2 separate regions of the Homo sapiens genome follow, and region 2 is linked to region 1. Evidence: promoter capture Hi-C in 16 types of primary human blood cells and fetal thymus (Javierre and others, 2016). All regions are on one chromosome and are shown on one strand. Each heading gives the region's core, a stretch centred on a gene start or on the middle of the fragment in contact. The rest is flanking DNA. Distances are from core to core; before and after follow the strand shown. Region 1 holds the start of PSMB2 (proteasome 20S subunit beta 2). Region 2 holds the start of CLSPN-AS1 (CLSPN antisense RNA 1).

Evidence for each region. Contacts are between HindIII fragments. The CHiCAGO score rates a contact against its expected background, and 5 or more counts as called.
Region 2: the fragment with the promoter of CLSPN-AS1 here is called in contact with the fragment with the promoter of PSMB2 in region 1 in 2 of 17 cell types (M1 macrophages and erythroblasts); the score reaches 6.7 in M1 macrophages.

Annotation. Positions count from the first base shown.
Region 1 is chr1:35,639,070-35,645,884 of GRCh38, forward strand. It overlaps PSMB2 (proteasome 20S subunit beta 2), which reads right to left and starts at 2,457. Exons shown (of 6, transcript NM_002794.5): 1 at 2,273-2,457. The coding sequence starts at 2,363. RefSeq lists enhancers at 1,432-2,397, 2,186-2,645, 2,398-3,362. The HindIII fragment of the contact is 1,783 bases long and covers 1,483-3,265 here.
Region 2 is chr1:35,737,480-35,744,294 of GRCh38, forward strand. It overlaps CLSPN-AS1 (CLSPN antisense RNA 1), which reads left to right and starts at 1,966. Exons shown (of 2, transcript NR_199043.1): 1 at 1,966-2,034; 2 at 5,684-6,097. It overlaps CLSPN (claspin), which reads right to left. Exons shown (of 25, transcript NM_022111.4): 17 at 5,976-6,051; 18 at 5,662-5,762; 19 at 1,886-2,050; 20 at 1,657-1,778; 21 at 976-1,103; 22 at 513-618. RefSeq lists enhancers at 815-1,316, 1,060-2,259. The HindIII fragment of the contact is 7,776 bases long and covers 409-6,815 here.

The DNA of each region.
Region 1 (6,815 bases), core at 1,207-3,706:
CTGGTGAAACCCCGTTTCTACTAAAAATACAAAAATTAGCTGGGCATGGTGACGGGCGCCTGTAATCCCAGCTACTTGGAAGGCCGAGGCAGGAGAATCGCTTGAACCCAGGAGGTGGAGGTTGCAGTGAGCCGAGATCGCGCCATTGCACTCCAGCCTGGGTGACAGAGCGAGACTCTGTCTCAAAAATAAATAAATAAAATAAATAAAAAAGTCATCATACAATACTAAAATTTCTATTATAATTTGTTTTATACCAGAAAAGACTATAGGGAAAATTGGAATGTGCAGAGTGCAACTATTTCCAATTATTTTTCAAGAACTAACTCAAATTCATCTTTCTCCCATACCATAGTTATCTTTCTTTTATTACTCTTAGGATTTGCTCTTGAACTCATTAATTTAAAAACCAACCTACTACTAACTAGTAATACTTCTTTTATTATATAAAATCATCTTGCAGCATTTATTTCCTTGTTTTCTTAATGTCTTGGACTCTTCTATGGGTTATAAGTAATATACTGCATCCCCTATAATGACTAAAAGTACTGTGTACATAAGTAGGCTTAAAGCACATTCTACTTTTCAATGTGATTTCACATACATTTGGGATGAAACAAAAGACCTGTAAAGATAATGATTATTGTTCTACCTAGACATGACTTAATGTTAAAATCACTTGCTTGTCAAAGACCTTAGTATTCAAAATAATGGACAAATTTACTCTCAAAACAAATTCACTCCTTTGGAAGGACTGGCTTACAAACAAAACTTCTACAAACTAATCATAGAATTTCATAAAGTATAAGGTGCTATGTTAAGTGATTTACATTAATTCATTAACCTTTTGAGATAGGTGCTATTACATTACCACCTTATAGATGTTAGCTCTAGGGCACGGAGTTAGAGAAATTTGCTTAAGGTCACAAGTGGCAGAACCTGGGTTCAACCTATGCAGTGAGTCCAGACATTTTGCCCCTAAGTACTATAATATACTATACTATACTATACTATACTATACTATACTATACTATCTATACTAAATTACTCAATACATAATTTTAAGAAGATTTTGGTTGTTTTTCTGCAGAATCTAAGTTTGTTTTCCTTAACTGATCAAAGACGTGCTACTGTTGAAAAAGTATTAAGCTTTGGTTCAGATGACTTAATGGTCATTTGACAAATATGTTTGGGCACCTACGTACACTTAGTATTATTAAGTACCTGCCTAGTGCTAAGGATTTGCACATAACTCATTTACTAAATCCTCCCGACAAGTTTGTGAGTTTGGTATTGCTAATCTTAAAGATGAGGAAATCTGGGCACTGCAAAATAACTTATACAAACTCATAAGGCAAATAAATGACAGGGCTCCAATCTCTTAACTCCATTAACTACTTAAATATAAGGAAAACCTGGCAGCCATTGCTCTGGAAAACTGGAAAAGAAGAATCGGGAGCCACGGGAAGAAGGAAAATGCCAAGCTTCTGGTCCCACAGTCTCACTCTCCCCAGGATCCCACCTTATGCCGCCAACAAACTAACCTCATTACTAGCGACACCAGGAAACTTATCAGAGATTCGGGGATCTAGAGAGCCAGTCCCACAGTCTCACTCTCCTCAGGATCCCACCTTATGCCGCCAACAAACTAACCTCATTACTAGCGACACCAGGAAACTTATCAGAGATTCGGGGATCTAGAGAGCCAGGCTCTGGGCAGGCGCTTAAACATTTATAAACTGATTCCCTTTAGGCAACTCTCACCAAGCAAGAAGCATTTAGCGAAGGCCAGAGCAGAGCACTGACCCAGGAGCCCTGGAGGAGCAAATGCCAAGGTCCCAGACCTGTCTGCCTGTTTCGCCTGTAATCCCAGCACTTTGGAAGGCCGAGACGGGCGGATCTCCTGAGGTCGGGAGTTCGAGACCAGCCTGACCAATATGGAGAAATCCACATCTCTACTAATAATACAAAAATTAGCCAGGCGTGGTGGCGCATATCTGTTCCCAGCTACTCGGGAGGCTGAGGCACGAGAATCGCTTGAACCCGGGAGACAAAGACTGTGCTAAGCCGAGATCGCGCCATTGCACTCCGGCCTGGACAACAAGAGCGAAACCCCTCTCGAAAAAATAAATAAATAAATAAAATAAGTACGGGCAGGGCAGGCCGGCTTCCATCTCTCAGATCCTCCCTGGTACTTATTCAACCCCCGACAAACTCCTTCTGGCCGCTCCTACACCCCAGGCCTGGCCGGGCCTCCCCTGCTTCCTCTCACCGTCCTTCATCTGGACAATATTGCTGGCGGCCACCCGGTCGGAGGCGACAAGAACATAGTCGGGGCCTTGGATACCGATGAGGTACTCCATGGTGGCGGAAGGCCAGGGGCTGCAGGTCCGACACAGCACGAGACTCGCCCGCTTCCAGGTCTCACCGGTGAGACAGCACCTCAGAGCGAAGATTGGCGCGACGCCTGCAGCACGACTTCCACGGCGCTCTCGGATGACGTACAACTGTCGCGAGAGGTTGCAAAGCGGGCGCGGCGCCGGGTGCCTTATGTTCAGTGCTTGTCTCTGGGATCGTACGGGTCTCCTCCGGAGCAGGCTGTGCAGGTCACTTGCCTTATGTGACGCCCAGTTTCTCTGTTTACACACTAAGATTTTAAAAGTGGCTTTAGGATAAAATCACGCAGTGTATGTAAGGTGCCGAGCACGTGTGGGTGTCAAAAAGGGGTAGGTAGCCAGGCAGCCGTTTCCCTACGTTGCTCGGTAAAATCTCCCCAGAAACCCCTTTCCTGCAAGCCAGATTGGAGAAAAATTAACTTGAGGGGAGCCTTACTTCCATCCTTCACAAAAATAGTATATGGTTGGATTAAAGATATAAGCATGGCCGGGCGCAGTGGCTCACGCCTGTAATCCCAGCACTTTGGGAGGCCAAGGCAGGCGGATCACCTGAGCTTGGGAGTTCGAGACCAGCCTGACCAATATGGAGAAACCCCGTCTCTACTAAAAATACAAAATTAGCTGGGCGTGGTGGCGCATGCCTGTAATCCCAGCTACTCTGGAGGCTGAGACAGAGAATCGCTTGATCCCTGGAGGCGGAGGTTGCGGTGAGCACTCCAGCCTGGGCAACAAAAGCGAAACTCCGTCTCAAAAAAAAAAAAAAAAAAAAAAAAAAAAAAAAAAAAAAAAAAAAGAGAGGGAGAGAGATACAAACATGGAAGAAAAAGTAGAAAAATATTTCTGTAATTTTTGGAAGAGATGTGTTTCTAAGCTTGACAGGGAACCCAGAAGCAATATGAGAAAAGACTTGACAGATTTGACTACCTAAAATTACACGTCTCTATGTGGTGAAAGTCATTATCATGCTCAACAGTAAATGTAAATTGGGAATGTTTCAATTGTAGAAATAGTTACTATTTTGGACCTTATAGACAGAAGAAAGGAAAAAGTTAATATCTATAACTTAAAAGATATTCCTACAAACCAATGGGAGGGGAGCCGGGTGAGACAATACCATTTTTAAAAGACCCGGCAGGGCACGGGGGCGGATCAAGAGGTCGGGAGTTCGAGAACAGCCTGGCCAATATGGTGAAACCCCGTCCCTACTAAAAATACAAAAAATTAGTTGGGCGTGGTGGCAGGCGCCTGTACTACTCCGGAGGCTGAAGCAGGAGAATTGCTTGAACCTAGGAGGCGGAGATTGCAGTGAGCCGAGATAGCGCCCCTCCACTCCAGCCTGTGCAACAGAGAGACTCCATCTCAAAAAAAAAAATAAAAAATAAAAAAAGACCAAAGACTAAGAAAAACAATTCACAAAAGAAGCAACACGAATGGCCAATAAACATGAAAAGATCCTCAACCTTGATGGTAATTAGGAAAATGGGAAATAAGAAACAATGAGAAAGTATAAATTGGGGGTAAGGTTCTAAGTTGTACAACCTTTTTATAGAGAACAATTTTAATATCTGTTAAATATGCATAACCTTTTGAATATGTCCAAAAGAAATGTTTGGACACACAGTCCAAATATTTGTGTACCGAGATACTCAGTGTTGCCAGGGGCAGTGGCTCACGCCAGTAATCCTAGCACTTTGGGAGGCCAAGACGAGCGGATCACGAGTTCAGGAGTTCGAGACCAGCCTGGCCAACATGATGAAACCCCGTCTCTACTAAAAATACCAAAATTAGCTGGGCGTGGTGGTGCGGCACCTGTAATCCCAGCTACTGGGGAGGCCAAGGCAAGAGAATCGCTTGAACCCGGGAGGCAGAGGTTGCAGTGAGCCAAGATCACACCATTACACTCCAGCCTGGGCAACAGAGCAAGACTCTCTCTCAAAAAAAAAAAAAAAAGAGAGAGAGATATTTAGTGTTGCAGCACTACAACACAAAAGAGGACCAACTTACGTGTCTAAAAGTGGAGACATTGTTGGGCCGGGTGTGGTGGCTCATGCCTGTAATCCCATCACTTTGGAAGGCCAAGGTAGGTGGATCACGTGAGGTGAGGAGTTCGAGACCAGCCTGACCAACATGGTGAAACCCGGTCTCTACTAAATACAAAAAATTAGCCGGGCGAGGTGGCAGGCGCCTGTAATCCCAGCCACTTCAAGAGGTTGAGGCAGGAGAATCGCTTGAACCTGGGAGACAGAGGTTACAGTGAGCTGAGATCGTGCCACTGCACTCCAGCCTGGGCAACAAGGGCAAAACTCTGTCTCAAAAAAAAAAAAAATGTAGTACAGTCATAGTGGAATATTGTGCACCCATAAAAAGAATGAGATGAATCTAAATATACCTATATATTCCATGGCCCAAGATACATTAAGTGAAAGTAAAAATGCTTTTTTATATGTAGCCTGATGCCATTTTGTTTAACTATGAATATTTGAATATGAATGGAATACCTGTAAATACCTGTTTACAGGTATTCTAGTGTCAAATTATTTGCATTTATTACCCTGGTGAGTGTAATTTGAAGGGAGAACTTTCACTTTTTATTTTATACACATGGGTATTGTTTGAATGTTTTACAGTGCTCATGTACTATTTGTATTTTTTCTAATAGAAAAAAAAACAGCCATCCCTTTATATCTTGAAGCAATTCTGAAAAAAAGGTGAAATATTTCTTGATTGGGTTTCTGACATCCACAACTGAGTCTTCATACTAGCTTATTGAGAAATGGGAAACGAGTTGCAGTTGTATCTCCAAACACAACTATGCAATTCGTTTGTCTCTGCAGAAATTGTAATACTTTATTCTGAATGTTTCTTCCAGCTCCCTGCACATAAAGGAACACAGAGCCTGAGGAGTTTGAGGCAGCCTATCAATCATGGGATGGATGCCAGGGGCAAGTGAGGTCATTAAGTCAACCATCCACTATGAACACAGCTGCATCCATCACTCTAGAAAGATTGTTTTCTTAAATACCACTTGGAGGGGGGAGGTCTCTCTCTCTCTCTCTCTCATCCTCATTGTGTGTGTTTGTGTGTTTTTTTAATTGCAAAAAGTACATAGTTATACTATATATACACACATACACAAACAATATAGAAGAAACAAAGAGTTAAATACCTTTCCTTCCGCCAAAGGTAACCACCCACTGAATGTCTGTATCCTTCCAGACTTTTCCTTTGTACATACCAATATTCATTCATTCACAAACGCTGCAGATTTCTGAATTGGAAGATCCACAGTATTTTTATTATTATTTTTAAGGACTATCTTTTAAGCTGATTCATCCTTCTTTCTTTCCAGGCTTTTTTATTTTTATTTTTATTTTTTTGAGACAAAATCCTGGGTTCAAGTGATCCTCCTGCCTCAGCCTCCCAAGTAGCTGCACTACAGTCACATGACACCACACCCAGCTCTCCCTAGGACTTTTTGAAATCTGCTTTAGCTAAGTAGCACTAGAGCTGCCCTCATTTCTTGTTAGTATAGAAGAAAGTAGGTTTTCAAGACCTAGCTTGTGCTGTGTCACTCTCCTCCAACTAAAGTCTTAGAATAACTGAGTCTTAGAATTAGAAGTCTGTGGAGGTTCACAGAAGTAGCATAATGTAGCCAAAATATTTACAGATAGTAAATATTTTTGGCTTTGCAGGTCATACTTTCTCTGTAACAACTACTAACAACTAACAACTGCCATTACAGTGAGAAAGCAGCCATAGACAATACATAAACAAGAGAGCATGGCTGTGTTCCAATAAAACTTTGCTTAAAAAACAGGTAGGGGAAGGGGGAAGGTGGGCTTGGCTCATGGACTATAGTCTGCCTCCCTGATATAGTGGAAGGCCTGTAAGTCAACACCCAAGTGTGGTCCCAGCTTTACCTTTTTCAGCCTTGTTGCAAAATTCGTTTAGCCTTCCCGAGCCTCAATTTTCTTATTTATAAAAGAGGCATTCAGAAGAGAGGTTTGCTTTGTGTTTCCCTTGAGATGGGACAAAGACGCAGGTCTGTTTGGTTCCATGAGTATAAGGAACCATATTCTGCGAGAGTTTGGCAGAACCGTGATGAAGAATGACTGCAGTATTGGGGAACATGGCCATAATGTGGAAGCTACCAACCTTGCCAAGACTCCCAAGCCCAAGCTTGAGATAAAAGCATCAGTGTAGCTCACCCTCAAAAGACCCTGTGAGCTTAGACAATAGGATTGGGACAAGTGTAGACTGGAGATCAGAGGCACATCCCTAAACATTCAGGACAGTTACTGTACTGCATACTGTTGATGCCCTGCCCATACTCCGTTTACCTACCTGGGCACCCATTTCCCAGCTGTTATAAATGTTGGTTGATAACAACTCACAACTACCCTTTTCTTCAGAGAATTT
Region 2 (6,815 bases), core at 716-3,215, 98 kb after region 1:
ATCTAAACAAGCTAAGAAATCTTGTAACTAAATCAATATGCTAAAGCCATGGGAACTCTGTTCTATATAATGGTGACTTTCAAACTATAATAATTGGCTCCAAGAAGAGACACAACTAAGTTGAACAGTAATCATTTAAGAAAAACAGAAGTGGTCAGTGTAGGGAATAGTGAAGAGCTTCATTTCTGGAGTTAAATATTCCTGGATTCAAATCCTACCTCTAACACTTAGGTATACAATCCTGGGCAACTAGAGAAAGCCAGAATTAACTACTCTGAGCCTTAGAACATAAAGTAAAACCAGCCACATATACTCATGAATACAGTCTCTACTGCCCAATAGTCTAAGATCTAAGTACACTGTCTCCCACCACCTCTGTGAAGCCTCTTTAAGACAGTATTAGACACAAGCTTATGATTAAGCTGCAACAGCTCCTGAAGGTTAGAGTCACCTCCAAAGCTCTACCACTAACAATCCAGGGGGCTAGACCCTAAGGAGAAACAAGAGCTCACCATTCTTCTGCAGTGCTTTGGCTGTAACTTTCTTGGCCAGTATCATAAACTGACTGTCCTCCCCAATTTCTTCTTCTTCTTCAGCTGTAATTTTCCCCTGCTGTGCCTGAAAAAAAAAAAAAATATATATATATATATATATATATATACAGCATTAAAAGTCTATAACCTTCCTAAATAGTTAGCATGGCCTGGATTGTGAAACTAGAGTTCCTGGGGTATTTGTTTTCCTTTTTGCAGCCTTTGCTGCTTTAGACAAAAAAAAATTAATCTTAGACAAACATGAAGAGAACTGTCTATGGTATAGCCTTCTCAAAACACAAAAGATAGCTCAAGGATTAAAAGAGATAGCAATATGTTGCCTAAGATTTTGAAACTATCATGACAAGCTAAGATTTTGAAACTATCATGACAAGCTAAGGGACAGTCTCATAAACTAGGGTCAGAGTAGGTGAACTCCTACCATGTCCCGAAGCCACTGCTCTCGTTCAATTCGCTCCTTCCTCCACCTGGCTTCTGACTCATCAAGCTGTTCTTCAGTCTGATCATCATCAGAGTCTCTGTGGAACAAGTCCATCTGGGAAGCATCATCTAAACAAAGAGTGAAGGTAATCAGCATTCGGCAGTCCTCACAGGAGAGGGTGCTTGGACAGACAAAAAATAAACCCTTATCATTTACTATATAATGATGTAAACTTTTCCCATCCATTAACAGAAAACAGTTACAACTAGGTCTTCACATAGCCTGTTATAGTTTTGCTTGCCATTTGCCATCTGAAACTCGACAAATATGCATTGTAACTGTTTGCTTTTTTTTTTTTTTTTTTGAGATGGAGTCTCGCTCTGTCGCCCAGGCTGGAGTGCAATGGCATGATCTCTGCTCACTGCAACCTCCGTCTCCCGGGTTCACGCAATTCTCCTGCCTCAGCCTCCTGAGTAGCTGGGATTACAGGCGCGTGCCATCACAGCCTGCTAATTTTTGAACTTTTAGTAGGGACGGGGTTTCACCATGTTGTTCAGGCTGGTCCTGAACTCCTGACCTTGTGATCCACCTGCCTCTGCCTCCCAAAGTGTTGGGATTACAGGCGTGAGCCACCATGCTCAGCCCGTAACTGATTGCTTTTAAAGACAACAACCAAGATACCTATGTTTTTCCATCGAAACTTCCTCATTCGCCCAGGACCATCGCTGTGCAGATCCCCATCAGCAAGGTACCTCTCTTGGTATAAACGTAGCTGTCGCTTATCATCATCCAACATAGTTTTCCTGCAACAGGAGAAATAAGGTGTTCAAAACAAGGACCATTCTGGCTGGTTACAGGGCTTGTCTTAAGATGTACCCTATTACTCAGAAGGGCTTATTGGGATACTGACATGTGTATTTTCTTGATTTGACTCTGCAGTTCCTCATCAGAAGGAAGTACTTCATCAATTACGTCCTCTTCATATTCATCAATTTCTTCCCCATCATACTCATCTTCGCTTCCCACATCACTTCCTGACACCTCTGCCTCATCCTCCAGGTATTTCCTCAACCTCCTAGAAAGCAATTTTGAGGATTAGAAAATGCAACAATGAATATACTCACAGAATATGGAAGCAAAGAAAAGCAGAACAGAGTCACTTCTAATAATAATAAACATAATACATTTGATAATATTTAAATTTTTTTGTAATAGTCTCCACTTATGATGGTTTGACTTAATGATTTTTCAACTTTACGATGACATGAATGTGATACGCACTTAGTATGCTTCTCGATTTACGATGGAGTTATATCTGGATAATATGAAAGTGCATTTTCAACTTATGATGGATTGATCAGGATATAGTCCCATTGTAAGATGTGGAGCATCTGTATTTAAAAGTTGATCACTTAATATGTCTTGTGTGCTAATAACTGTGCTTTACAGGCATTAACATATTATCATAGGAATGGGTACTATTATTCTCTTCATTTTACAGTTGAGGGAATTGAGCCTCAGAAAGATTACATTTACCCAAGGTCACATAGCTAGAAGGTAGCAGAGCCTGGATTCAACTTAGATTGGGTGATTTGAAAGCCAGAAAACTCTTAATCTCTTTTACATGTATTAGAATACCTGCTGGAAGGTTCAAACTATTTCATTTTGCATTTGAGCACACCAGCTTTAAGAGACAAACTAGAGATGGTGTGGTGTAGAAAGGTAATAAACTGGGATCTTCTTACAGCCTAACAAATCTTGACCCCCACATCAGAAGGAAGACTAAGGCTCAGAGCTCCTGGTAATCAAAACGACTAGTTACTTCTTATGACTTCAGCTCCCCCGGAGAATAAATCTGGTGTCACCCTGGATTCAAAGTCACCTTGGTCCCATGTGGTCCAAAATGGCAGAAGTTTGGTGGCTTTCTGAAAACTGATTTTTATCGAAGACCTATACTGTATTTTCTCTTTTTTTTTTTTTTTGAGATGAAGTGTCGCTCTGTCGCCTAGGCTGGAGTGCAGAGATGCCATCTCGGCTCACTGCAACCTCCACCTCCTGGGTTCAAGTGATTCTCATGCCTCAACCTCCCGAGTAGCTGGGATTACAGGTGCGTGCCACCATGCCTGGCTAATTTTTGTTTTTTTAGTAGAGATAGGGTTTCACCATGTTGGCCAGGGTGGTCTTGAACTCCTGACCTCAGGGGATCTGTCCATCTCAGCCTCCCAAAGTGCTGGGATTACAGGCATGAGCCACCACGCCCAGCCTATACTGTATTTTCTTAAAGCTAAGTTGTTCTAAATCCTAGAGTTCCTGGAAAATTCCTTCAGAGGCCACTAGTCACTAAGTTTCCCAAACTTCCCACTTACCATCTTTGAACAGTTCAACTTTTATCTGTCATTCTTTAAAAGATTTTATTTGAACAAAGAGCTCTGCAGAGAAGAACCACTACCTTAGAAAAATCTATGGATAACCTAAAGCTGTATGAGAGTTAATTTGATAGGTGATAAATTAGAACCCAAAGTGAATCTTAATAGAATGAAATGATGGGATAAAAGCAACCATATAAATCTAATAGGGATCAATATGATGTCCTATATGTGAATTCCAAATCATTCACATACAATATAATATTAAATACCTATTAGAATTATCTTTATAAAACTTTTTTTAACATCATAGGAAAATGTTTCTGGATATGCTAAGTAGAAAAAAAAAGATGCAAAATTATACATATAGAAAGATTGTACAAATCTCAACTATATAAAAATATATGCATAAAAAAGATTAAGGGGAACAAACTAACTTTCATTTATATCCTGGATGGTGGACATGGATAAGTTTTTATTTATATCTTTCTGTATTCTTTTTTTGCGGGGGTCGGGGAGAATGGAGTTTCTCTCGTCGCCCAGGCTGGAATGCAATGGCACAATCTCAGCTCACTGCACCCTCCACCTCCCGGTTCAAGCGATTCTCCAGCTTTGCCTCCTGAGTAGCTGGGATTACAGGCACTGGCCATCACGCTTGGCTAATTTTGTATTTTTAGTAGAGACGGGGTCTCGCCATGTTGGCCAGGCTGGTCTCGAACTCCTGACCTCAGGTGATCCACCCGCCTCAGCTTCCCAAAGTGCTGAGATTATAGGCGTGGGCCACTGCACCCAGTTTGTATTCTTTTAAATATCCTAAAATAAATATTTTACTTTCATGACCAGAACAGCATATCAAAAAAATGAGTTGGGCCGGCCAGGTGGGGTGGCTCACGCCTGTAATCCCAGCATGTTGGAAGGCCAAGGCGGGTGGATCGTGAGGTCAAGAGATCGAGACCATCCTGACCAACATGGTGAAACCCCGTCTCTACTAAATATACAAAAATTAGCTGGGTGTGGTGGCACGTGCCTATATTCCCAGCTACTCAGGAGGCTGAAGCAGGAGAATCGCTTTGAACCCGGGAGGCGGAGGTTGCAGTGAGCCGAGATCATGCCACTGCCCTCCAGCCTGGGCGACAGAGCGAGACTCCGTCTCAAAAAAAAAAAAAAAAAAAAAAAAAAAAGCTGGGCCTGGTGGCTCATGCCTGTAATCCCAGACTTTGGGAAGCAGAGGCAGGAGGATCACTTGAGGCCAACAGTTTAAGACCAGCCTGGGAACAAAGCAAGGCCCCATCTCTACAAAAAATAGAAAGAATTAGCCAGGTGTGGTGGCACATGCCTGTTGTCCCAGCTACTTGGGAAGCTGAGGCAGGAGGATTTAAGTTAAAAAGTGGCAAACTATTAACTGACTGTTAGGGGAGATTTCACCTAATCTAAGTTGAATCCAGCCTCTGCTGCCTTCTAGCTATGTGATCTTGGGTAAATTTAATCTTTCTGAGGCTCAGTTCCTTCAACTGTAAAATGAGGAGAATAATAGTACCCACTCATAAGATAATTTTTTTGAGATGGAGTCTTGCTCTATCACCCAGGCTGGAGTGCAGTGGGGCAATCTTGGCTCACTGCAACCTCCGCCTCCCATATTCAAGCAATTCTCCTGCCTCAGCCTCCCAAGTAGCTGGCACTACAGGCGCCCAGAACCATGCCTGGCTAATTTTTGTATTTTATTTTGTATTTTGTATTTTTAGTAGAGAGGGTTTCACCATGTTGGTCACGCTGGTCTCAAACTCCTGACCTCAAGTAATATGCCTGCCTTGGCCTCCCAAAGTGCTGGGATTACAGGCGTGAGCCACTGTGCCTGGCATAAGATAATATGTTAATGCCTGTAAAGCACAGTTATTAGCACACAGGACATATTAAGTGATCAACTTTTTTTTTTTTTTTTTTTTTGAGACAGAGTCTCGCTCTGTCACCCAGGCTGAAATGCAGTGGTGCGATCTCGGCTCACTGCAACCTCCACCTCCTGGGTGCAAGCGATTCTCCCTGCCTCAGCTTCCTGAGTAGCTGGGACTACAGGCACCTGTCATCACATCTGGCTAATTTTTATATTTTTTAGTAGAGACAGGGTTTCACCATGTTTGTCAGGATGGTCTCGATCTCTTGACCTGTGTCACCAAGACCAGGCTGGTCTTGAACTCCTGACCTCAGGTGATCCGCCTGCTTCAGCCTCCCAAAATGATGGGATTACAGGCGCAAGCCACCATGCCTGGCCTAGTGACCAAATTTTAAATACACCTGAAGGAATGGACATATTAATAACACGTACATTTGCCTTTTCAACTTCTCAGATCGCTTCAGGAGTTCTTCTTCATCATCATCTTCATGGTCTTCCAGTGCCAGATCATTACCAGAGTCACTGTGTTCATCCTACAAAATCAGCATCATATCCAAATTAAGCAGAATAAAATGCGTCCTCAATGAAAAAAGGATTTATAAACATCTGCCCAAATACCTCATTCTAGGAAATTGTTTCTGATAAGATGCCAAACTTAGAATTCTCAAGAACTGAGGGGAAAAAAACACTTGAGGGCAGCAATACATGGAGCTCAGTTATGATTACTTTGTTCCCTTCATACTCACCTCATCACTATCAAACTCATTATCATTTGAAACAAGCCGAAAGTCTCCAAATTCCTCCTCCTCGTCTTCCTCTTCCCTAAAATGTAAATCAATGAATCAATAAATAAGTTGTTGAAAGCAAACTACAAGTAGTCAGCCAAGTTATGAATTAAAAAAAATTTTGTGTGTGTTAATTTTTTTTTTTTCTCTGAGACAGTCTTGGTCTCTTACACCACCTGGAATACAGTGGCACCATCTCAGCTCACTGTAACCTCCACCTCCAGGGCTCAAGTGATCCTCCCACATCAGCCTCCTGAGTAGCTGGGACTAGAGATACAAGCCACCATGTTCAGCTAATTTTTGTATTTTTGTAGAGACAGATTTCACCATGTTGCCCAGGTTCATCTTGAATTTCTGGATTCAAGCAATCTGCTTGCCTTGGGCTCCCAAAGTACTGGGATTATAGGTATGAGCCACCTCGCCCAGCCAAATTTAAAACTTTTATTATCACCAATAATCTCTTCAATAAACAGGAAGAAAATTTTTTAAATTTTCAATTGTGGTAAAATACACATAATATAAAATTTGCCTTTTTAACGATCTTTCTATAGTTCTGTAGTGTTAAGTACATTCATATTGTTAAGCAATCTCCAGAACTCTTTTCAGCTTGCAAAACTAAAACTCTATACCCATTACACTCTCCATTTCCTTATAACCTCAGTCTCTGGCAACCACCATTCTACCTTCTGTCTCTATGCATTTGACTACTCTAAGTATCTCATGTAAGTGGACTCATACAGTATTTGTCTTTTGGTGACTGGCTTATTTCTTTTAGCATAACATTCTAAGGTTCATCCATGT